7 separate regions of the Homo sapiens genome follow, and all the other regions are linked to region 1. Evidence: promoter capture Hi-C in 16 types of primary human blood cells and fetal thymus (Javierre and others, 2016). All regions are on one chromosome and are shown on one strand. Each heading gives the region's core, a stretch centred on a gene start or on the middle of the fragment in contact. The rest is flanking DNA. Distances are from core to core; before and after follow the strand shown. Region 1 holds the start of MEF2C-AS2 (MEF2C antisense RNA 2). Region 2 overlaps ADGRV1 (adhesion G protein-coupled receptor V1). Region 3 has its middle 2.1 kb from the start of ADGRV1. Region 4 has its middle 4.8 kb from the start of LYSMD3. Region 5 overlaps POLR3G (RNA polymerase III subunit G). Region 6 overlaps CETN3 (centrin 3). Region 7 has its middle 19 kb from the start of LINC01339.

Region 1 (3,033 bases), core at 379-2,878:
TGCTATATATGGCAAGGTAAAGGCGAACCTGAAGGATGAATGTGTTTCTGCTTTTTAATGTCATACGTGTAGCCATCTGACCACTTTTTATTGGGTGACATATCATATGAGCACTTTGGTGTAGGCTTGGAAAAACTACAGCCAGAGGTAAGGCTGGAAATTCCATAAGAGTTAAGGGTGCTGAAAATGGATGCTGGATAGTCCAGCATGAAAGATGGCATACCGCTTTAGGTTTGAAATAGGGGGAAATACATGTGAATATTTATACATGAAGGCCATTGGGGAGGGCTGAGTCTTGGCCTGAGTATCTGTGCAGGTAAGTCATTCATAAGAAAACTAATTACCTGTGCATGTACTTGGACTTGTTTAATTGAATAAGCTGCATGTGTGCATACTTGCTGTTCTTTCAGGGTTTGCAATTATAGATTGAGTCTTTTTTAAATGATAGCTTGGGGGAATTAAAAGGTGGAAAAAAGCCATCGTGCTGCATAGCTATATTGCCAAGAAAGAGAATCCGATCCTATAAACAAGATTACCATTGCTTGAAATCTAACTCAAGGCCTGTATATTTTAAGCCACATCAACTGGTTTAATATAGCCAATTGTTTTATTTGTGTATTTGCTTTCATTTCAAAGTCAGGAATCAAGGATGCTTTTCAGTCAAGATAATGTGCCTTGTTTCCAGCCATATTAAGATAAAAATGAAACTCAGTAAATTTTGAATGCAGCCAATAAGGTACAACATACAACATGGTTGAAAATGTCTTCCTTGCAGAAGGCTGTCCATTGCTGTGTCTACCCATTTTAAAATATATATATTTTTTTCAATAAGAAATGCTAGAAAGCAATAGGGCGGGGAATGCCGCACCTCTCAGGCAATCAGCACAAAAATTATTTAGAAATCTTTGGAATCACTTCACTTATACATACATTATCTCGAAAGCACTGGCCCCGAACTGTGTTTCTGCTAATATGAAGTTAATTAGACAATCAAACTTTGAGCCTTGAGCGATGGGCACTACAGCCCATCAAGGTATGTCAAGAAAGAAAAAAAAATGTGTATTTTCCTTTATGACCAAACCAGGAGGTTATACAGCTGGCATTGCATACATGACAGATGTGCATATTTGTAACCTTAAATAAACAGAAGCAGGGAGGTAACTGTGTATATTATCTAGCAAGAGACAGCAGCAGACACTCGCCAAAAAAGACAGAAAGGGACAAGAGAGACACATAGACATAATAAAATAACAACAATAAAAATCCTCCAAAAAAAAAAAGAGGGAAAGGGAACCAATAAAATGACAAAATCTGAAATTCTCGCAAATTAAAAAATGCAAATATACCTTTACATATGCATCAGTATTAAAAATAATACACGCTGGAACCAACAGGAGCGAGAGCAAGAAGAGGAGGAGGAGGTGGAGGAGAAGGAGGAGGAGGAGGAGAGGTGGAAGAGGAGGAGGAGGAGGAGGAGGAGGAGGAGGAGGAGGAGGAGGAGGAGGAGGAGGAGGAGGAGGAGGAAAGAATGGAGGCGCCGCGGAGCCCTGATTATGCATGGGCTGGAGCTGCCTCCTCTAACCTGTTCTTCTCCGAGCCGGGCAGCCGGCGGTCCTCAGCCGCCCACAGAACAGGAGCCGAAACAACCGTTCTCGAAGGCTACAGCGTTTATTTTTCTCTTTTGGGGGGTTTTGGCGGTTGTTTCAGGGGCTCGCCAACTGGCCCCTTTAATTAAAAGCTTCAATAAAAGGCGATCGCGCCAGGAATGCACCCGCTCCTCTTCGCGCAGGATTTGCATATTTTTTTAATGCCCTAATTTCCTTGATGTATGTAAATGTAGCCGGACGTAGAGGGAGACAGGGAGCTGACGTCAATGGACGTGACCTCGCAGCTAAACCTTGAACGTGAAGCCGGGATGGGGGAAAACACGGAGCGGCAGCCGGCGGAGCCCGAGAGCGCGGGCGGCGGCGGCAGTAGCCGAGCCCAGGCCGGGGTGCCAAGGGACCAGTGCCGGCCCCGGGGGAGGACAAGCCGCCGCCTTCTTTCTGCACCGCGCGGCTCTCAGACTCGCCAGCCTTCCGGCCGCACACGCAGACTCTTGCCCTGAGCTTCCAGCCCCACCACACACACGTTCTTTTGCTTCCCTCAGAAAAGCAACACTCCCCAAAACAACAAACCAAAATCAACAGATAAAACAGATGTTTTAGACCAATGCTCGGGTAGCTTATCAGAAAGAAGACTCTGACCACGGAACATATATATTTTTTGGCTTCTCTCCACAAGAAGAGGAGCGAGAGACCACAGACAACAGCAAATCACTCCTAAAACACGATAACTACAAGTGCTCCCTGTAGGGAGAGGTAAATCGCCCAGCCGACTGGTGAAGTCTTCTGGTTTCGGTACCTATTTACCTGTGCACTCATTATGCGCCTCGGCTTCATTAACGGCAGGATCATGAGCGCGCGTTTTAATGTGATGGGAGTGCTGTGTTGTGTGTGTGTGTGTATGTATGTATGTGTGTTGGGAGGTGCTTGCGCTAGTGAGCACCGAGGCAGGCGCTCTGAGCAGAGAGAGATCAGTCTTTCCATGGCCACGTCTGGGACTCATCTGCGGAGCCATCTAGGCCAGGGCTCCTAGATTGGGGTTCGACTTCACCCCATGTAAAAAGAGAGGCCAGCAAAGGCTTCCCCTGAACAGCCAGGTCCTTCCCATCGGATTGTTTGAGGAAGGAGGCTTGAAGTGTGAGCCATTCTGTAGCCGCCGCCTTGCCGGATTTGGCCTGGTGTTTTGCACTTGAAACTCAGCGGCCTCAGCGCGGAGGTAGTGCCTCTCCGAGACGCGGCCGAGGCCTTGTCATTCCCCTCCTTCCGCCCGCGGCAGCCCTGCGCGCCGGCGTGTGCGTGCCCGCGCACCGGACCGCTGGCACCTCCCTGTGCACATCCGCCCCCTCCTCTGCTCGCCCCCTCCTCTGGGGCAGCTAAGAAATGGTCCTCGGCCTCTTCTGGGCCGGAGGGCAGATCTACGAGCAGGCAA
Region 2 (3,033 bases), core at 361-2,860, 1.9 Mb before region 1:
ACCACTTTGCATGTGCCCAGTCTTTCTTCAGGCTTAAACACCACAAATCTTTTAACCACCCAGCTTCTGCTGAGCCACCACCATGTCTATTAATCATTTCTAAAACACAACAGAAATACAAAGCATAATACAATTTGACTAATTAAAGTCAACACTTTATTCCAGTTTTCTTCGTTTTTAGCTAATTTTCTTTTTCTGTTCCAGGATCACATCCAGGACACCACATTACATTGGGTTGTCATGTTTCCTTGGGCTCCTTTTGGCTGTGACATTTCCTCAGAGTTTTCTTATTTTTGATGACTTTGGCGCTTTTGAGGAATGTGGTCAGGTATTCTGTAGCATGTCCCTCAGCTGGGATTTGTCTGATAACTTTCTCATGATTAGACTGGGGTTATGGGTTTTGGGGAAGACCAAAAAGGCAAAAAGACTTTCTCATCACTTATACAAAAGGTACATACTATCAACATGACTTATCACTATTGGTGTCGAGCTTGGTTACCTGGCCGAGGTGGTATTTGTCAGGGTGCTCCACTGCAAAGTTACTCTTGCCCTCTTTTCCATACCAACTACTTTGGAAGGAAGTCATTATGTATAGCACCCCTCTCCCCTTTCGAAAATTTCTTACTGTTTTCCGTTAAATCAAACAAACTTACTTCCTTCCATCTATCTACCGACATATTAAAAACTGTACCAGGCATCGAAACATTGTCAGGATGTTGTATTGTAAATCTGCAGAATTTGGGAATGGAATCTAATTGGATGATGAATAGGATACACATACGGGAGTCTAAAAGAATTAATGGAATACAGGATCATTACAGCATACATTTATGGAGATGTGTTGCCAAAAGGCTAATTAACAATTTCAGATTTTCCTCTTCAAATATTCTCTGAAATCATGTGTCTACGTTCATTATTTCTTCTGTTAATAAGGCTCTTGATCATAATGTTCCAGGCTGTAGTGATGCCTGTATACCCTTATTGTCCAAGCCTCCAGCAATCCCCAAATGACTGCTGGTTTTTACTATATTTCCTTGGCTTCCTCAAGCAATTATAGCCTCCAGCAGTATCACTTGCAAACCACTTTCTAGCCATTAAAGCTATAAACTGTTACCCAGAATTTAGACTAATTGGCCAGTTGGATAATTCCAATCTTCACACTGAAAAAAATGCAGCAGAGCCTAGCATCTATGCCCTTAGAGTACTCTGATACTTACCAGCAGGGCAACTATGAGCAGGCTGTTAATGTTTGAGTCTATTGTTAACGTCTGAGTCTACTTCCTCTTCTGTAAAATGAAGTTATAAGACTACTGACTTTATTTGGTTATTTTGATCTGGGATTAAGTCCAATGTTTTTCTGTTTTCTAATTCATCAATTTCATTTTTAATCTTTATCAATTCTCTATCCTGATTGGTTTAGTACGGTATTCTTTTAAGATTCATAAATTGAAAACCAAGTTACTTTTTATTATTTAAAAGATACGGTTTTGCTTCATGTATAGTTTTGGCTGCATCTCAGGTTTGGTAAGTGGAGTTCCTAGTGGTATGATATTCTAAAAAGTCTGTTATATTATGAAATTCTAAAAAGCCTATTGCCACAGATATGAGTTCCTATTTAACACAAGGCTTATTTACAAGAATTCGTTTTCCCTTGCTGCTTTTTTTTTTTTGAGATGGAGTTTCACTCTTGTTGCCCAGGCTGGAGTGCAACGGCGTGATCTTGGCTCACTGCAACCTCCACCGCCAGGTTCAAGTGATTCTCCTGCCTCAGATTCCTGAGTAGCTGGGATTACAGGCATGCACCACCACGCCCGGCTAATTATTGTATTTTTTAGTAGAGACGAAATTACTCCATGTTGGTCAGGCTGGTCTTGAACTCCCGACCTCGGGTGATCCACCCGCCTCGGCCTCCCAAAGTGCTGGAATTACAGGCGTGAGCCACTGCGCTCGGCCGGGTTTTCCCTTGCTTCTAAGTGAAAGGATATTTTGAATGTTTTTTTAATGCATCTTTTTTTTAATTTTTGTTTTTAAAAAGAAGTAGGTCTTTATTTAATTTTGTTCACAATGTGCTGTTTTCTGGTTCTCACTTTCATTTATTACTTTTGACACAAAATGGAATTGTGTGAATTTACCAATGATATGAAGAAAAATAAACATTTTATTATTCTGGCTAAATATGTGGCAATTCCTCAAGGATCTAGAACTAGAACTACCATTTGACCCAGCCATCCCATTACTGGGTATATACCCAAAGGATTATAAATCGTGCCACTATAAAGACACATGCACATGTACGTTTATTGCTGCACTATTCACAATAGCAAAAACTTGGAACCAACCCAAATGTCCATCAATGATAGACTGGATTAAGACAATGTGGCACATATACACCATGGAATAGTATGCAGCCATAAAAAATGATGAGTTCATGTCCTTTGCAGGGACACGGATGAAGCTGGAAACCATCATTCCCAGCAAACTATCACAAGGACAGAAAACCAAACACTGCATGTTCTCACTCATAGGTAGGAACTGAACAATGAGAACAACTGGACACAGGGTGGGGAATATCACACCCCAAGGCCTGTTGTGAGGTGGGGGGAAGGGGGAGGGATAGCATTAGGAGAAATACCTAATGTAAATGACGAGTTAATGGGTGCAGCAAACCAACATGGCATATGTATACCTAGGTAACAAACCTACACGTTGTGCACATGTACCCTAGAACTTAAAGTATAATAATAAAAAATATATATGTGATGCTCAAATGAATTAGGCAGAGCTCCGGAAGATCACTTATGGTCCAACTAAGTACTACCTCTTTCCCATTTGCAAGGTATTTGCGTGTCATATTATCTATTGTCACTACCAGGAGCCATTTACCAAACTAAAACAAGATATTTAATATTTTTTAGACATTCAATCCCTTCAATTAACAATTTTCCACAGGGCCTCAAGGACTGTACAAAATTATATTAAAATAAGAGCCTTAATTTGCAACCAAAATACCTGAACATGCTCTATTATTCCCCC
Region 3 (3,033 bases), core at 266-2,765, 1.9 Mb before region 1:
GGGATAAATTGTCTGTCTCCTCATTTATAAAATAGGATTATTAATTACTCATAAGGCTGTTAGGAGTAGATGAATGAGACTGTGTGAAGTGCAACTCTTTACAGTACACCTGGCACGTGGTAAACCCTCAGCAAATGTTGCTTATCTTTCCCAGTACACAAAGGTAAAGGCTCAATGTCAGACCATACCATCAGCAATGTGCACATCCCCGCCTGCACCAGAGATTTTTAAAGCAAATGCAGCATTATTAGAATCACGGAAGTTTCAAACTGGGAGCAAAGAGAAAGATTAGCACTCCCACAGCAACTCACCGCTTTTTATAGAAAAAAAAAATGGGTTCTCAGCCTCCTCATTTTAAATGCAGCTCACACAAGTACTCTTCTTAATTGGAATAGGAATAACTAGATACTTTGTGTTACATACTGCCGTCCAGGGGCACTCATTTAGCGTTATTATGAGCTGTTGCTGAGCACCTCCTCTGAAAGCTGCAATACTCAACAAACAGCTGGGTATCAAACGGCAAGTTTGTTGAGACTAAATGATTCTTATACAGAAACCGTGTGGGAATGCAAATGACACATCAAGGCGCTGCAAAAGGTGGGGAGAATAGCAACCTAGGTGATCCAGGAGATTGAACAGCTTTCCTGTGAGGCTCAACAACAAAGGTCGGACCTGGGTCTGGAGGCTTTAAATCCACGAGCATATCAACGGAGTAGACACAGACAGACATGCTTACTAAATCCTGCCATATATGAACGGTAACTTCAAAGCAACTTAAAGTGAAAACTGTGAATCAATTATCCATGTAGTCACATGTAAAACAGAAAACAATAACAGAAAAATGTTTTCTTCCTGATTATTTAAAACGTCTTACTAAAATGTATATTCAACCCACAGTGTTGTTTTATTAGCGTTTGTAAAGGCTTTATTTGTGGCTAAATACCCTGGCAAAGTCAACGTCTACCAACCAAATATTCCATCTTAATTTTTGTTTCACCAAGTCCCATGATTAAACACATTCCCCACAACTGGACTTCCTCAGCTTGCATATTTACTTTGTGTATGACATTACCCTAGGCACTGTGATGAGTAAATGAAAATTTACACCCTCACCCAATCTACCTCAGGGAACTAGGTAATTAACAATTATTACTAAGTGTTTAGGAAGCAGAAGACTCTGTAAGGCACTGTGGGAAAAACAGTGATCTCTAAAACCACCCTAAGTTTATTAATTTGCACTCTTTCTGGGGTGAAAGTTAATCAACCGAAAAGCAGAATATGCCATGCAAAAAACAAGCCACTCAAGTGCTAGAAATCTCTAGGAAGAAGAGAGTGTATGGATTGCTGAAGGCTTCTCCAAAAAGCTTTGCTTTGAAGAATAAAACCACAAGAAACAACATAGTTGGTAATTGTGGTACAAATACTTGACAAAGTAGTGTAGATACTCTCAAATGCTGAAATTATTAAACAAATGCTCATTGAACTTAAATCCAAACTTCTTAACATGGACCAAGAGACCTCACATAATTCTATTTCTCTTTTCTTCTCCAGCCTCATCTAGTACCACTTTCCCTCCATTTCACTGTATTCCTATCACACTGACGCTTCTTTCTTTGTCTCAACCACAGCAAAATCATTCCTGCCTCCAAGACTTTGCACAAGCTTTTTCCTCTGCCAGGCACACTGCTTCTGCAGAGCTTCATATGGCTGGCTCTTTCTATCATAGACCTCATTTGAGGGGTAGCTCAACTATCTCTTCCTTGGAAGCACCTGCCCTGATAACTTTCACCGCCACTCTCAGCCACTACCCTCTTCTATGTAATTTCTATAACTTATCCCTAATAAATATCCCATTTACTTATTAAGATATTTAGGTGTTTTTGTCTCCCCATAAAAATGAAAGCTGCATGGGGGTAGCTTGCATGTCTCTGTCATTTGCTGCTCTATACTCAGTAGCTAGAATAGTCTCTGGGATATAGTAGAAACTCAGTACATGAAGGAAGGAAGGAAAGGAGGAAGGGAGGGAGGGAAGAGGTAAGAAGGGAGGGATGGAAGGAAGGGAGGAAGGAAAAGGAAGGAAGGGCCTGAAAGCCTGTCATATTAAAAAGTTTCCCAGAGCCCATTTTTCATTTCTTTATATTTCACAATCCAACCTTACAAAACATAAGACTTGATCCCATGTAAAATACAAATATGCCTGAATCAGAGATACTTTAAACCTCATCCATCATTACATCTTAGAGATCCTTTGTTCTTCAAAGGCTTTGATTTAAAAAGAAAGAAAGAAAAAAAGAAAGGAAAAGCATTACTAGGCACCTGGAGGTGGGAGGTGTCAGGTGCCACTGAGAGATAAGGGTGTTGAAAGGAAAGCTTAAGGTTCTAAAGACAAAGCCCAATTCCCAATTCTGCCTAAAAGCAACAATGGTAGAATGTAAGCCTTTTCTCCTACAGTAATCTTCATCAAAATCAACCCAGTAGCTCCAAATTTCACACAGTAAAGATAAATTAGTTTTCTTAAACCCAATAAGAAAAGTACTGATGTCATACAATTTTCCTTCCTATTCCAATTTAATTAGTCTTGCATACTAAGTAAACCTTATAAATCTTGTGAAAAGATCTTTATATTCCCTTGAAAATGGTATTTTTTTATATCCTAGGTTTCACATATCTAAGTTTAGGCATGCGTAAAGGAATTTCACCAAAGCAGCAAAATCAAGTTCAGGCAATATCTACTCTCTCTTACCCCCCAAAAGTAAAAGTAGGATAATACTTCGAGAGTACCCGAATCTGCCTTTAAAGGCTTTTTCTGTTTGGGCCCTAGGTCCCAGATAGGAAAAGAAAAAGTAGTGATTGTCAGGAGCCACGGACTTGAACTCCTCTTTCTCTCCCCACTCTTAAGTTCAGACCCACCTAGAATCTAAAGATAAAATAAGGCACCCAGTCACATCAACAGTCCCCCAACCCCACTGCATTTGCACACTAATATGTAGTAACATTCTCCATAGATTTTAGTTTATCATTTTAGAACTCTAT
Region 4 (3,033 bases), core at 300-2,799, 1.9 Mb before region 1:
TGCCTGCAATTGCCTCTTAACTGATCTCTCTGCTGCTGCCCTAACCTTCCTATTAAATTCTTTTAAAAGGTAAATGATGACCTCCTCTGCTCAGAACCCTCCAGTTGTTTGCCGTCTTGCTCAGAGTGAAAGCCCAAGTCCCTGCAGTGGCTAACAAAGTCCTATCCCATTTGGCTCTCTGTGGGCTCATCTCCCATGGCTGTACAAGAGTAACCTGAGTGCAAGTGATAACCCAGTGAACAAGGCAAATAACTTCTTAGAATTATTGTGAAAGTACTTGAGGACCCTACTAAGGAGTCTTGGGGATTGGCAGGGGTTCTGAGATCATACTTTGACAACACCTTGTATAGTTATCAAAATGTCAGTTTTGCGCAGACTGCCTTAACTTTATACATGTTGAAAGTGGTTGTTGTTACCATTCTTATCATAATCCTTGCTTGTGTTTTCCAGTCCTTTAGCAATGCATTTGAGTGCTGTCATTACACACATACAACAAGCAACAGCAGTCTCTACTTGTAGTTTTTATGAAACCAGAATTTTAATGAGTAATGGCAGATATTGAGAAAAAGGTGAACAAGGCTCATGGGAGGTAACACAGAGCAGGAGGAAAAAATTTACTATAAATCCTTTTGTCTATTTTCACCATATTCATTTCGAAACTCTATCCTGTTCAGTTGCTAAAACCAAATAAAGTCAAAGGGCTAGCGTATCTATTTTATTAGAATAGATTACGCAATGCTTTTATGGCTTTGCCTTACAAGCAATCCTAATATTTGTATACAGTAAAGCCATTCTTTTTAAATATAATGCCTTCTATTGCATCAGCATTACATACAATGCCTATAAACATTATCTTATACAAAGCCAGGAATAACACACAAGAAATTTTCCTTAGAAGATTGGTGTAGTAATATTTATCTTTCAATGAAATGACTGAAACAATAGAATTAGAAATCTTTATAAAACAAGTGTTCATTTATATTGTTATGTGATATATAACCAAATCTGTAGTATGATCTTAAGGACAGGGTAATAAAAGGAAAGTTAATCAAGTTTCAACTAATATAAATTGATTATTCTACAAAATAACAGATTAGATTTTAAACTGAAAAATACTCCAAAGAAAAATAAGTACTTTTCAAAACAACAAATCAAAGAAATGAGCTTCTGTATGTTTCTTACTAACAGATTGCTCATTGATTAGTATATACATTTCCAAACACATTTTTCTGCATGGAAAGGAAGGAAGCCTCCACGACCCTTGCTATATACCCCATCAAGTAAGTCCAAGTGTAAAATGTTTTTTGAAATCAGCAGGCATTCTTTGCTTCAAATAATTCTGAAGGGATTTAGAAGCCAGATAGGATTAAGGCTTGGAATAAGGGGAAAAAATTCAGCTCAATCTTAACTGTAAATAAAAGAAAACATGGTGAGAGGGCAGAATGGAAACTTTACTTAGATCCAACAATTGCTACAGTGGTAAATCTGGCTTATTTAGAATTAATGTGGAAAACAGGCCCTAGTACAGAGTCACTAATCAAAGTATGCAAGAAGGAACTAGTGAAAAATATCTTTAAAACTAAAATTGAGCATCCTCATAGAGTCGGGGGCTTTGAAAAAATTCTTAAATCAAGTATTTTTAACCCACATCAATGTGATACTTGATGTTTTTCCCTAATTTGAGACATCTTCCCTCTTGCCTGAATTACTACAATTTCCTCTTAACTGATCTCCTTGCTGCTGCCTCCACTTTCCTATGGGATCCTTTTAAAGGGTAGATGATGACCTCCTCTGCTCAGAACCCTCCAATCGTTTCCCATCTTGCTCAGGGTGAAAGCCCAAGTCCTTGCAGTGGCTGACAGAGTCCTTTCCCATTTGGCTCTATCTGACCTCTTCTCCTACTGCTCGCTGCTTCGGCAATCTGCTCCAGCCATGCTGGTATCTTTGTTGTTCCTCCAATACTCTAGGCACAGTTCCTCTCTCAGGGATAGAGAATTTTCATAGGGTGGAGACTCTCCCCCAACCCAAAACACTGCAGCTCCTACCCTATTCAGTGTTCCTCCATTCACTTATCACCATCTAACACAATTTCATTTATTTATTTTGTTTTTATCTTTCATCACAAGAACATAAGCTCCAAGAGGGCAAAGATTTGGGTTTGTTTGTTCATTGCATGTCCCTGATGCTTTATTAAAGCAGGATTTGAAACACAGTTGCTGCTTAATTAACATTTGTTGAATGAACAGATGTAATTTCTGTCTATATTTTGTCAGATAAGCAACTACCTTCATTTTAGGTATGCATGTACACCTCACTATTATTCTTTAAATGAGCACGGAAGTTTTGCTTTTGAAATTCTTGCTTGGTTTTGTCAGATAGTGTTGACTAAGCTGAGGATTGTCACAGAAGTGGTCTCTATCTGGAAAGACCTAGACTAGAAAGAGAAGATGCTGTTGCCTCTCCCATTATCCTTTTATTCTTCCCCACTCCCTATCTTTCCTGTCTCTGTGAATGCACTGCTGAAGACCTAAGAAATCAAACTGGACGTCCACTCTCTGTACTCCATTTTGACTTGCTCTCCACTTCTGGGTGATCACTATCTATCATCACCCAATTCCATAGACTGGGTCATGCCTCAGGTTTTCCTTTGGTTTAGTGAACTTAATTACATACTGTCTTATCATCTTAAATCTCTGGAGAAGTAGGCACGAAAACAAGCAGGATGCAGGTTCTGGGGGAATTCACCTGCACTGATTTGCCTATGTGACAGTAGTGATTATAAGAGACATGGGAAACAAAGCATTTCAAATTATAGTCTACTTAAATATAAAGATGTAACTGTTCCTTTCTACATGTACCAACCACCTAGCTAAAGAGTATAAGGATAGTATTTGTGAGGCTAGTTTTCATCGTGTCTGCATGGATGAAGACTTGAAGATGGTTGTTTTCAAGTCATGTTTAAGATCCATGAATTAATTACTAGCATTTATAAACAGCTTTGGATTCCTGAAGTATATCTGACTCTTCTTTTGT
Region 5 (3,033 bases), core at 268-2,767, 1.8 Mb before region 1:
AATTGCCCCTTGGGGAATTACTGAGCTCAGAGCTCCCAAACATATGTATTAGTGAGGTTTCTCAAACAAAAGTAATAGTTAGATTTAATGATGGGTAACTTTCTCTGACCCCCTCGAGGGCAAAGACTGTTTAATATGAACTGTAACACATAAAATATAGCATCACATATGAACAAGATCTCAATAAATTATTATAATATTAATGCCAAAAAACATTAGCTAAGAATGTATTCTACTTACATCATGAAGTCTTTTTCTAAGAACTTTTTATCAAATTATTTAATTTCATAACATAAACCTTTGTTGAAGGGATACTAGAGAATATGGCCAGGTAAGTAAACTTATTTTTTTTTTCCATCTTTGGCCAAGTATCTGCATATATTTGAATAGTTTCTTTTAACACATGGCAGTAGCTGGTTCTTCAAGAAACAACTGTTTTCAGCCTTTGACTCTGTTGTTACTGTTTACTTCCATGTAAATTAATGGAGGACATCTTAACATAAAGGACAGTACAAGCTTATCAGAAACAAGACATAAAAATTACACAATATGTAATAAAAAATACTAGAGCAAAATGAGAAAGTTTCATTGTTGCTTTGTTTATTAACAAATGGAAATCCTGACACTTTGGGAGCTTTTACTGATTAATGTGGGTATAAAATCCCAGGGATAACATATTTGAAAACATTAACTCTTCCAAAATGAACACATTTTTCTCAGCTTTAAAGTCAACTACAGATGTGTGATCCTCTAGGACATGACCAGTATCATTCATGCACATGTATTTTATTATGAAAATAATATATTTGCCCAATAAAAACCAACGGTATAAAAGACAGAAGATAAATTGTCATATTTCAAAATATTCTTTATGCAAGCTAAATATGATTATATACTGTATCTTTAAAATAAAATAAAAATACTCTGCCTTAAATACACATGTGCAAAAAATGTAAATTGTGTATGTACTTCAAATATGTGCATTGTATTGTATGTCAATTATATCTCAATAAAGGTGTTAAAACGGGGAATAGGAATTCCTTCTCTTCTCTTCTCTTAGTTGATAACCCCACTGTTCTTAACCTCTCTGACTACCTTCCTTTTTCACTCTTCATTCTTCATAGCAAAATTCTAAGAAGACTCATCTATGCTAGCTGTCTCCATTTCCTAAGCTCCATTTACCGGTTAAGCCATTCCAATCTGGATTCTACCTCAGTGAATCTTTCAAAAAGCTCTCACTGAGGTCACAATAACCAACATGTCAAAAACGAGTGAACATTTTCCAGTCTTCGTCCTATCTGACCTCTTAGCAGCAATGTCTAACATCTTTTAACATTGTTGACCACCTTCCGAAATACCAGACTACCTTGTGTAACTCTGCTCTCCTGGTTCTCCTCCTCCCTCTCTCTTTCCAGTTCCCTTCTTTGCCATTCAATCTCCTCTACCAGCCCATTAAATGTTGGCATTCCTGTAAGCTCAGGGTTAGGCTCTCCTTTCTTCTAATTATCTAATTCTGCCCTAGACCATCTCATCCTTTCTCTTGGTCTCAATGATCATATCTCTGATAATGACTGCTATCTCCATTTTGAGGTCCATTCCCCTGTATCCAAGAATATATTTAACATTTATATTTGTATATTTCAAAGGAACCATAAGTAACATCTTTGAACTGAACTTCTGATTTTCTCTCACAAACCTGGTATTTCCCTACTTCCTCTCCCACAACTATGTCTCAGTAAACTCCTATTCATCCTTCAATCTCAACTCCAATTCCATGTCCTCAAAGAACCCTTCCCAATGAGGACAGTGTGTTTTTCTTTAGTGATTTTACCCCATTTGACTACAAGCTCCATGAGGACAAGGATTATTCCCACTTTGCTCAGTTTTATTCCTGTCAGCACAATGTCTGGCAATAATAGATAACTATTTACTGAATGAAATTACTAAAGAAAAACAAACTGTAAACATTCACTTTGGCATTCTTCTATACAACATAAAGCTCCATTTTATTGGTTTCCCAATTTTAAAATGTTTTAGTTAATAATTTATAATGTAGCCAGTATAATAAAAAATCTGCAGTTATGCAAATGAAAAGGTCTACAATAATTGAAAAGTCTTTCTTAGCAGCTCCACAATTCCATAACTAAAGGAAAATCCTAAGTGAATAAATGCAGGAACAGAAAACCAAATATTGCATGTTCTCACTTATAAGTGGGCGCTAAACACTGAGCACACATGGACATAAACATGGGAACAACAGACACAGTGAACTACTAAAGTCGGGAGGGGAGGACGGGGTGGAGTGAGTTAACAAACTACCTATTAGGTAGTACACTCACTACCTGAGTGCAATATACCAATGTAACAAACCTGCACATGTACCCCTGTATCTAAAATAAACACAGAAATTTAAAAAAAGATAAAACATTTAAAAATTAAAAAATAAGACATACACAAAGAAAAGGCAACAACTAAGAAAAAAAACACCCAAAAGACAAACAACAAAAAACAAGCTTTAGCAAAATAGTTATAATGCATATATATACACACACACACACATACATGGGGGGACAGAGAGAGGGAGAGAGTCAGTGTCCTAGACAGAGTGTCAGGGTCTTGCTCTGTCTTCCAGGCTTAAGTGCAGTGGTGCAGTTTAGGCTAATTGCAGCCTCTGCCTCTTTGGCTCAAGTGATCCTCCCACCTTAGACCCCCAAGTAGCTGGGACTACAGGTGCATGCCACCACACTTGGCTAATACTTGTTTTAACTTTTTGTAGAGACAAGTTCTCACTATGTTGCCCAGGCTGGTCTCAAACTCCTGGGCTCAAGTGATCCTCCCACCTCAGCCTCCCGAAATGCTGAGATTACAGGCATGAGATCCCTTGTCTGGCTCAAAATAAGAAAAGCATTAAGAACAGTGAGTATAACTTTGGGTTGACAAATCCATATTAACAGAATGTAAGAAATAACCTTTTCCTACCTGAATTACTATTATATTAGTCAATGTACCTTTTTTACATTTATTTCTTGGCAT
Region 6 (3,033 bases), core at 197-2,696, 1.7 Mb before region 1:
TTTGAATCTGTTTTTATCTTTGTCCATTGTGGCTGTCCTAGTTCAGGCCCTAATTTCTAGTTAGGAATGTTATAATGGCCTCATTTATTCTTGCCTTGGCTGCCTACTGGGTGCAGTGTCCTGCGTGTTGACTGGTGCTACACAATGAAAAAGGCAGATGTGGTTCTTGCTTTCACTTTGCAGTCTCTTGTAGTGTCCTAATTGCCCTTTCGGCATATAAAAGTCTCTAATCTCTTCTTCAGTCTCTTGGTATCATTCTTTTCCTAAAATATACATTTGATAATGCCATTTCTGTGTTTAGACACTTGAAACGATTCTTCAGTGCCTACAGAGTAAAGTTCAAAGCCTTCTATGATCTATCCCACCTTGAGTAACTGATTTTACTTTCCAGTGTATTCTTTCACTTTTCTTCTTTAACCCTCACCTCCTGTATGTACACATTTTGTCAACATATGCTATCCTGAAAACACATTTTTATGCTATTCGTTTCATCCTGCTGTTTCTTAATCTTAGAATGCTCTAATTGTTAATTTCTGCCTGCTAAAATGTGATTCATTCTCTCAGGTAAATATTAAACACCATCTTTTTCCCAAAAGCTTCCCATAACGCTCTATGAATCATGAGACTTCCATTGAAGGCCTATAGCATTTAGAGAAACAAATTGTTTTGATACTTTCATACACTTAATATGGAATCTTTTGGCTGGAAACTAAGTTTTGTTGAGATAAAAACCACTTTATTTGTATGTTAAACTGCTAAAGATTAGACCTTGCTGTCTTTTTTGTGGACTTTAGTGTTCTTCTCTCTTTGTGACTTTTTCATGCTTTTCAGTATCTAAGAGCAATGAAATTTTAAAAATATTGGGTATATAGAATAATAAACATGGTGAATGTGAAGTTAAAGGTAAATAAGATGTACTACAAGATAGACATAAAGCTGTGGTAATGATACAGAAAGAGTCACTTCCCCCTGCCCCCTCAACAGCATATATAAAATAAAACACAGCACATCTTTTGGAAAAAATGAAAGGAACGTTTTGAAAAGCCAGAATGGATAATCTTTTAAATAATGATGATGTTTTTTAACATTTATTTAGCAGCTACTATATTGGATATTAGCATTAATTATGTCACTTAATTTCCATAATAACTTGTAAAGTAGATATAGTATTATACCTATACATGTGTATAATAGATGCATATATAGAGATGAGGAAGCTAAAGCTTTGAGAGATTATTAATCTGCCCAGGTTATCACAAAGCTAATACTGTACATGGTAGAGCCAGAACTCAAAATCAAATCTCCAAAATGGCAAAGAATGTGCTTTTAAACGTAATATTGTATTGCCTTTCGGGCTATGAAGTAAAATATTAACTAGACTTCTATGTTTATGGAGTTTTAAAAATTACATGCTATTATAGGAAGCAGTGTATTAGCAACATACTCAGTTGGAACTTCCAATTCTAAGATTTGCTTTTCCCCTTCAAAGCCAGATGGTCTCTAAGGTACTTAATCTACTTAGTTCTGTAAAATTCTTATTGTTAGCAACTTGTAATAAGATTTGCTCTATGAAATGGTTGATGTATGAAAAATTTTGTTAAAGAAGGCAGTATAAAAGGAAACAAAGTGTCATATTTTCTTGATTCAATAAATGTTTTACCAAAGCTTATTTTAAGCTAGGCATTGTGGTAGATTTATTAGATATAGGAACTTGATATAAGATATTGTTAATAGAGAAGGTTATAAAATCAAATGCACAGAGATATAGAAGATTGTCTTTTAATTGTCTACAAGACAATTAAAGTAAAGTAGCTAGTTTAATTTCCTGAGCCACTTTCTAATTTTTACTTTCTTGGGTTTAAGTAGTGTGTTTTTAGGTATGAATCATGGAATTCAGTTGTCCCTTGATAAGCACAGGGGATTGGTTCCAAGTCGCTTAAGGATGCCAGAATCTATGGTGCTCAAGTCCCTTGTATAAAATGGCATAGTATTTTCATATAACTTTCACATATCCTCTTGTATACGTTAAATCATCTCTAGATTACTTATAATACCTAATACAATGTAAATGCTATGTAAATTGTTATACTTTATTTTATTTGTATTATTTTTTATTGTGTTATTTTCCCAAATATTTTTCATCTGCAGTTGGTTGAATCTGCAGATGTGAGGAACCTGTGGTTACAGAAGGCTGACCGTATTTTAAATACTTTTGAAATGCTATTATAGTTTAAAGTTTTTGTATATAAACAATATAAAAATTAAGTGTTTTGTGGTTTTCAAACTTATATATGAAACTTAAAATTTGCAGTTTGAGTATTGAAATTTTACAGATCAAGAAAAAGTTCTAGATCTTTAAGTAACAAGTACTTTTTGGATTTTGAATATTTTAATCATGGATGTATTACACTGTTAAAATGATTTGTAATCAAATCATTCTAAGGCTGTTTTATGTTTTTTCTCTTAATACAGTTCTTAAGAACATACTCTTGCTTCCTATTTGGTCTAGATGCCTCAGTCTAAATCGGGAGTTCTTCAGTGAAGGTGCACACTGGCTAAACTGATTAATAATTTTATATATTTGAACTGTATTTATTGGAAAGAGAGAGGGATCATAGCTTTCCTAAGATATTCAGACATGGCTATTTAACTGCAAAGGTTAAAGATCACTACATCAATTTGTAAGATTCTTGAAAGTAGTTTGGAGTATTACAGATTTTGTATTACGTTCTTACCATGTTTGTCATAGTGTTTTGTAGATGTTAAATACTGATTGCATGGCTTCATAGTTCCCTGTCAGCTTCTGGAGGGTGCATTTTTCCTAACTCATAGCTTATTTCTGTGAGGCATACACTATTCTTTCTTTGACTGTATTTCTGATGGTATTCTCCCACCCCAGCTCTCTTTCTACTTCCTTTCCAAATTCTGTATTTTTATTTTAGAGCCCAAGTAATGATTTACCTTTACCTAAATTTTTCTTATTAGTAATAATTTTTACCATTGTGAAGGATTTTTTTTCAACACTGATTTGGT
Region 7 (3,033 bases), core at 377-2,876, 1.6 Mb before region 1:
GTGTAGCTCAAAGTACCCATACACCTTTTCTCCTAGCCATCCCAGGACAAAGAAAATGTCATGGTGCGATAACAGGGGTAGAGTTAAGCCAAGATGAAGAAAACCCTTCCCCATTACACAATCAACATCTTACCAACTTTGCCAAAAGTGACTCAAAACAAAAATAGGAATCAAATTTTTTAACGCTTGCAATCTTTAATAGGAGGAAGGAAAAGCAAGTAATATTGTCATTCACATTTGCTGCTGGCAGAATACTGCAAATTAAAAACAATCAAATGACTTTCTTAATGTTGAGGGCAAAGATTAAAAAAAGGAATACACATGATGAGAAATCTTACAAAATAAACTACTTCTGAAAAATTGAGAATATTTAAAAAGCCTTTTGGATTATCCTATAACCTGAAATTGAAGAAACGTTAATGACAAAAAGACTTGTTTTGTTATCTTTACCTCCACAATATCATGGTAAGCATTATAGACCAGTTAATCTCTACATAGTCTACTTATACCATAATTGATTTATTATGTGGTTATATTAGCTCAATTTCTTTTTATTTAGAAATTGATTAATCTCAATTTTTTTGTTTTTTAAAGTGTGTTTTATATTTTAAGTCTTTTATGTTAGAATCATTTTTTATTAAGATAATATTTTTTAAATAATTGAATATTTTAAATAATTTTTTATAATTTAAATTAGGCTTTCTAAAGTGTTACAAGTAGGCCACCGGCCACTGTGTCTTCTTTTGAGGCAGGGTCTCGGTCTATTGCCCAGGCTGGAGTGCAGTGGCGTGGTCTCAGCTCACTGTGACCTCTGCCTCCTGGGCTGAAGTGATCCTCCTGCCTCAGCCTCCCAAGTAGCTGGGACAACAGGTGTGTGCCACTGCAGCTGGCCAATTTTGGTATTTTTTTGTAGAGACAGAGTTTCACCATGTTGCCCAGGCTGGTCTTGAACTCTTGGACTCAAGTGATTCTCCTGCCTTGACCTCCCAAAATGCTGGGATTACAGGTGTGAGCCACCATGCCCGGCCGACCAGTGTATCTTAACTGGCTTGTTATGTTTCTGTGTTAGTCCACGGGCTAGACTTCAAAGAGTTTATCTCTCTCAGTTGAAAATTAAAAATCTATTTGGAAAAAGTTAGTCAAGTCTATCCCAGAACTTGTGTAAAAACTTGGGTAGTGGTGTCTCACATCATTGATGTACCTCTTTCATAATACCTTTGTGCTCTTCCATTTAGTTAATTTCCTTTCCTACTGGAAGCCAGTAAGAAAAGCATTTATGTCCAACAGAGACAGTACAAGACGAATTTATTCAATAGACAATTTTCTCCCTCCTCCCTCCCTCTCCTTCCCTTCTTTCATCTTTTACTTATTCATTTGTTCATTTATTTGTTCACCATACATAGTATCATAACTAAGGAAGAATACTTTGCTACTAGCCTATTCGTATTTGCCAGAAAGTTAGCAAATATTGACAGAAAGAGAAGGCATTTAAAAACAAATACGCATGCAACTTTGGATAACATTAATAAGGTATGTGTTTAAATGAAGCTTGTCTTCTCCAGAATATCTTATGATTTACTACCTCAGAGATAAACCTCATGTCACTAAGAAAACATCCAGATTCCACTGGGACTGAGTAACCATACTAGATTTCTGTTTCTTGCTTTGACTATTCTTAGAAATTTCATTAATGTTTAAGCTTTTAAAAATTTTACATTTCATAACAGTTAAAATCCAAATTCCAAGGTCATACCTGTAGAGAATTAATTGTTATCCTTTTTCTTGGGTGAAGAAATAAACTGGGACAAAGTGCACTGAAATATGGAATGTAATCTCTGGGTGGCAGCATGTATTCACCAGCAAAAAGTCCTTACTAACTAATGTTATTTCCATTTCTTTATGAATTGCTAAATTGGTGGGTCAGCATTATTCCATGGTGTAGAGTGTCTTGGTTATTTGACAACCCTCTTCACATACTTTTTGAACGGGTAATAAAATGTGAAATTGGTGATAACACAAATAACTGGAAATGCATATGACTGTACAACAAAATGCAAAGAAAATTGGTTGATTAATGCACCAATGTTAGTTTCTGAGACTTTCTCTAATGAAATTTTCTAACTTTAGTTACTCAAACATTCTTTTTTATGGTTTTGGAAATAGGCTCCAAGGTTATAAAAATTAACAATAATATTAACTTTAGGTATAATGGGTATGCCTCAATTCTGATTGAAAATTAAAACTCTTTGGAAAGAGGTACTAAAAACAATTAGTTAACATTTTCAGATATTAACGTAAAGTCCTATGATTATTAAAGTAATATAAAATGTCAAAAAATGTGATACTGAAAAGACCCTAGCATTATGGTTAATCCTAAAACCACTCTGAGATTTGAAAAAATGTGTTGTAACTGTTAAGGTGTGCAATTTTAGGCTGTGTTAGTTGAAGCATGGTGTTAGCCACGCTTATACACTTTAATAGGGACATTATCATATGAGAGTGTCAAAGAGAAACTGGGAAGGTATAGCGTCTGGAAAGTATGTTATAAGAAAACAACTGAAAAATCTTTGGTTTGGAACCAAAAACCTGGGTACGTGGAAGGAGTGTTTGAATATTTGAAAACCTATCATGTTGGGGGAAAAATAGACTTTTCTTTTTTTGGCTTCGGAATATTCGGTAGACAGCATGGGGCTGCTAACTGTTGAAACAGGGAAAAATTCTGATAACAATTAGATCCATTCAACAAGGAATGACTATTACTGTAACTCCTTATCACTGACTAAGGGCACTCAACGATAATCCAGATTGAATGATCATCTGTCAAGTGTTGTAGAAGAAATTCTATTACTAAAAGCCTCCTAGAGCCCTCTATTTCTTAAGTTTCTATATCTACTTTCAGATATTTAGTGACAGGCAAAATAATCAAGATGAGTGATTGCACTTTTACTTTTGCATTTGATTTTTTTTTTTTTTTTTTTTGCAGAGGAAGTCACTGTTTGGCACACTCAAATTGTTAAACAGGCTCTTTCATAA

Evidence for each region. Contacts are between HindIII fragments. The CHiCAGO score rates a contact against its expected background, and 5 or more counts as called.
Region 2: a contact is called between a fragment that was not itself captured here and the fragment with the promoter of MEF2C-AS2 in region 1, in 1 of 17 cell types (neutrophils). The highest score is 5.3, in neutrophils.
Region 3: a fragment that was not itself captured here is called in contact with the fragment with the promoter of MEF2C-AS2 in region 1 in 2 of 17 cell types (total B cells and naive B cells); the score reaches 8.0 in total B cells.
Region 4: a contact is called between a fragment that was not itself captured here and the fragment with the promoter of MEF2C-AS2 in region 1, in 2 of 17 cell types (naive B cells and total B cells). The highest score is 8.8, in naive B cells.
Region 5: a contact is called between a fragment that was not itself captured here and the fragment with the promoter of MEF2C-AS2 in region 1, in 1 of 17 cell types (neutrophils). The highest score is 5.2, in neutrophils.
Region 6: a contact is called between a fragment that was not itself captured here and the fragment with the promoter of MEF2C-AS2 in region 1, in 4 of 17 cell types (naive B cells, total B cells, monocytes and 1 more). The highest score is 10.1, in naive B cells.
Region 7: a contact is called between a fragment that was not itself captured here and the fragment with the promoter of MEF2C-AS2 in region 1, in 1 of 17 cell types (naive B cells). The highest score is 9.8, in naive B cells.

What each region holds. Positions count from the first base shown.
Region 1 is chr5:88,674,813-88,677,845 of GRCh38, reverse strand. It overlaps MEF2C-AS2 (MEF2C antisense RNA 2), which reads right to left and starts at 1,628. Exons shown (of 4, transcript NR_146284.1): 1 at 1,583-1,628. All of the region lies in intron 1 of MIR9-2HG (MIR9-2 host gene), which reads left to right. RefSeq lists enhancers at 1,554-2,119, 2,557-2,656. The HindIII fragment of the contact is 5,913 bases long and covers 1-1,740 here.
Region 2 is chr5:90,599,875-90,602,907 of GRCh38, reverse strand. The region is part of intron 1 of ADGRV1 (adhesion G protein-coupled receptor V1); the gene reads right to left. Among named protein-coding and RNA genes, the nearest start is that of ADGRV1, 43 kb to the right of the region's middle. The HindIII fragment of the contact is 7,323 bases long and covers 1-3,033 here.
Region 3 is chr5:90,555,132-90,558,164 of GRCh38, reverse strand. No RefSeq gene overlaps it. Among named protein-coding and RNA genes, the nearest start is that of ADGRV1, 2.1 kb to the left of the region's middle. RefSeq lists an enhancer at 247-748. The HindIII fragment of the contact is 298 bases long and covers 1,367-1,664 here.
Region 4 is chr5:90,532,833-90,535,865 of GRCh38, reverse strand. No RefSeq gene overlaps it. Among named protein-coding and RNA genes, the nearest start is that of LYSMD3, 4.8 kb to the right of the region's middle. The HindIII fragment of the contact is 7,271 bases long and covers 1-3,033 here.
Region 5 is chr5:90,497,682-90,500,714 of GRCh38, reverse strand. POLR3G (RNA polymerase III subunit G) reads right to left here. Exons shown (of 8, transcript NM_006467.3): 5 at 3,009-3,033. Among named protein-coding and RNA genes, the nearest start is that of POLR3G, 24 kb to the right of the region's middle. The HindIII fragment of the contact is 1,997 bases long and covers 519-2,515 here.
Region 6 is chr5:90,396,004-90,399,036 of GRCh38, reverse strand. All of the region lies in intron 4 of CETN3 (centrin 3), which reads left to right. Among named protein-coding and RNA genes, the nearest start is that of CETN3, 12 kb to the left of the region's middle. The HindIII fragment of the contact is 442 bases long and covers 1,226-1,667 here.
Region 7 is chr5:90,307,824-90,310,856 of GRCh38, reverse strand. No RefSeq gene overlaps it. Among named protein-coding and RNA genes, the nearest start is that of LINC01339, 19 kb to the right of the region's middle. The HindIII fragment of the contact is 151 bases long and covers 1,551-1,701 here.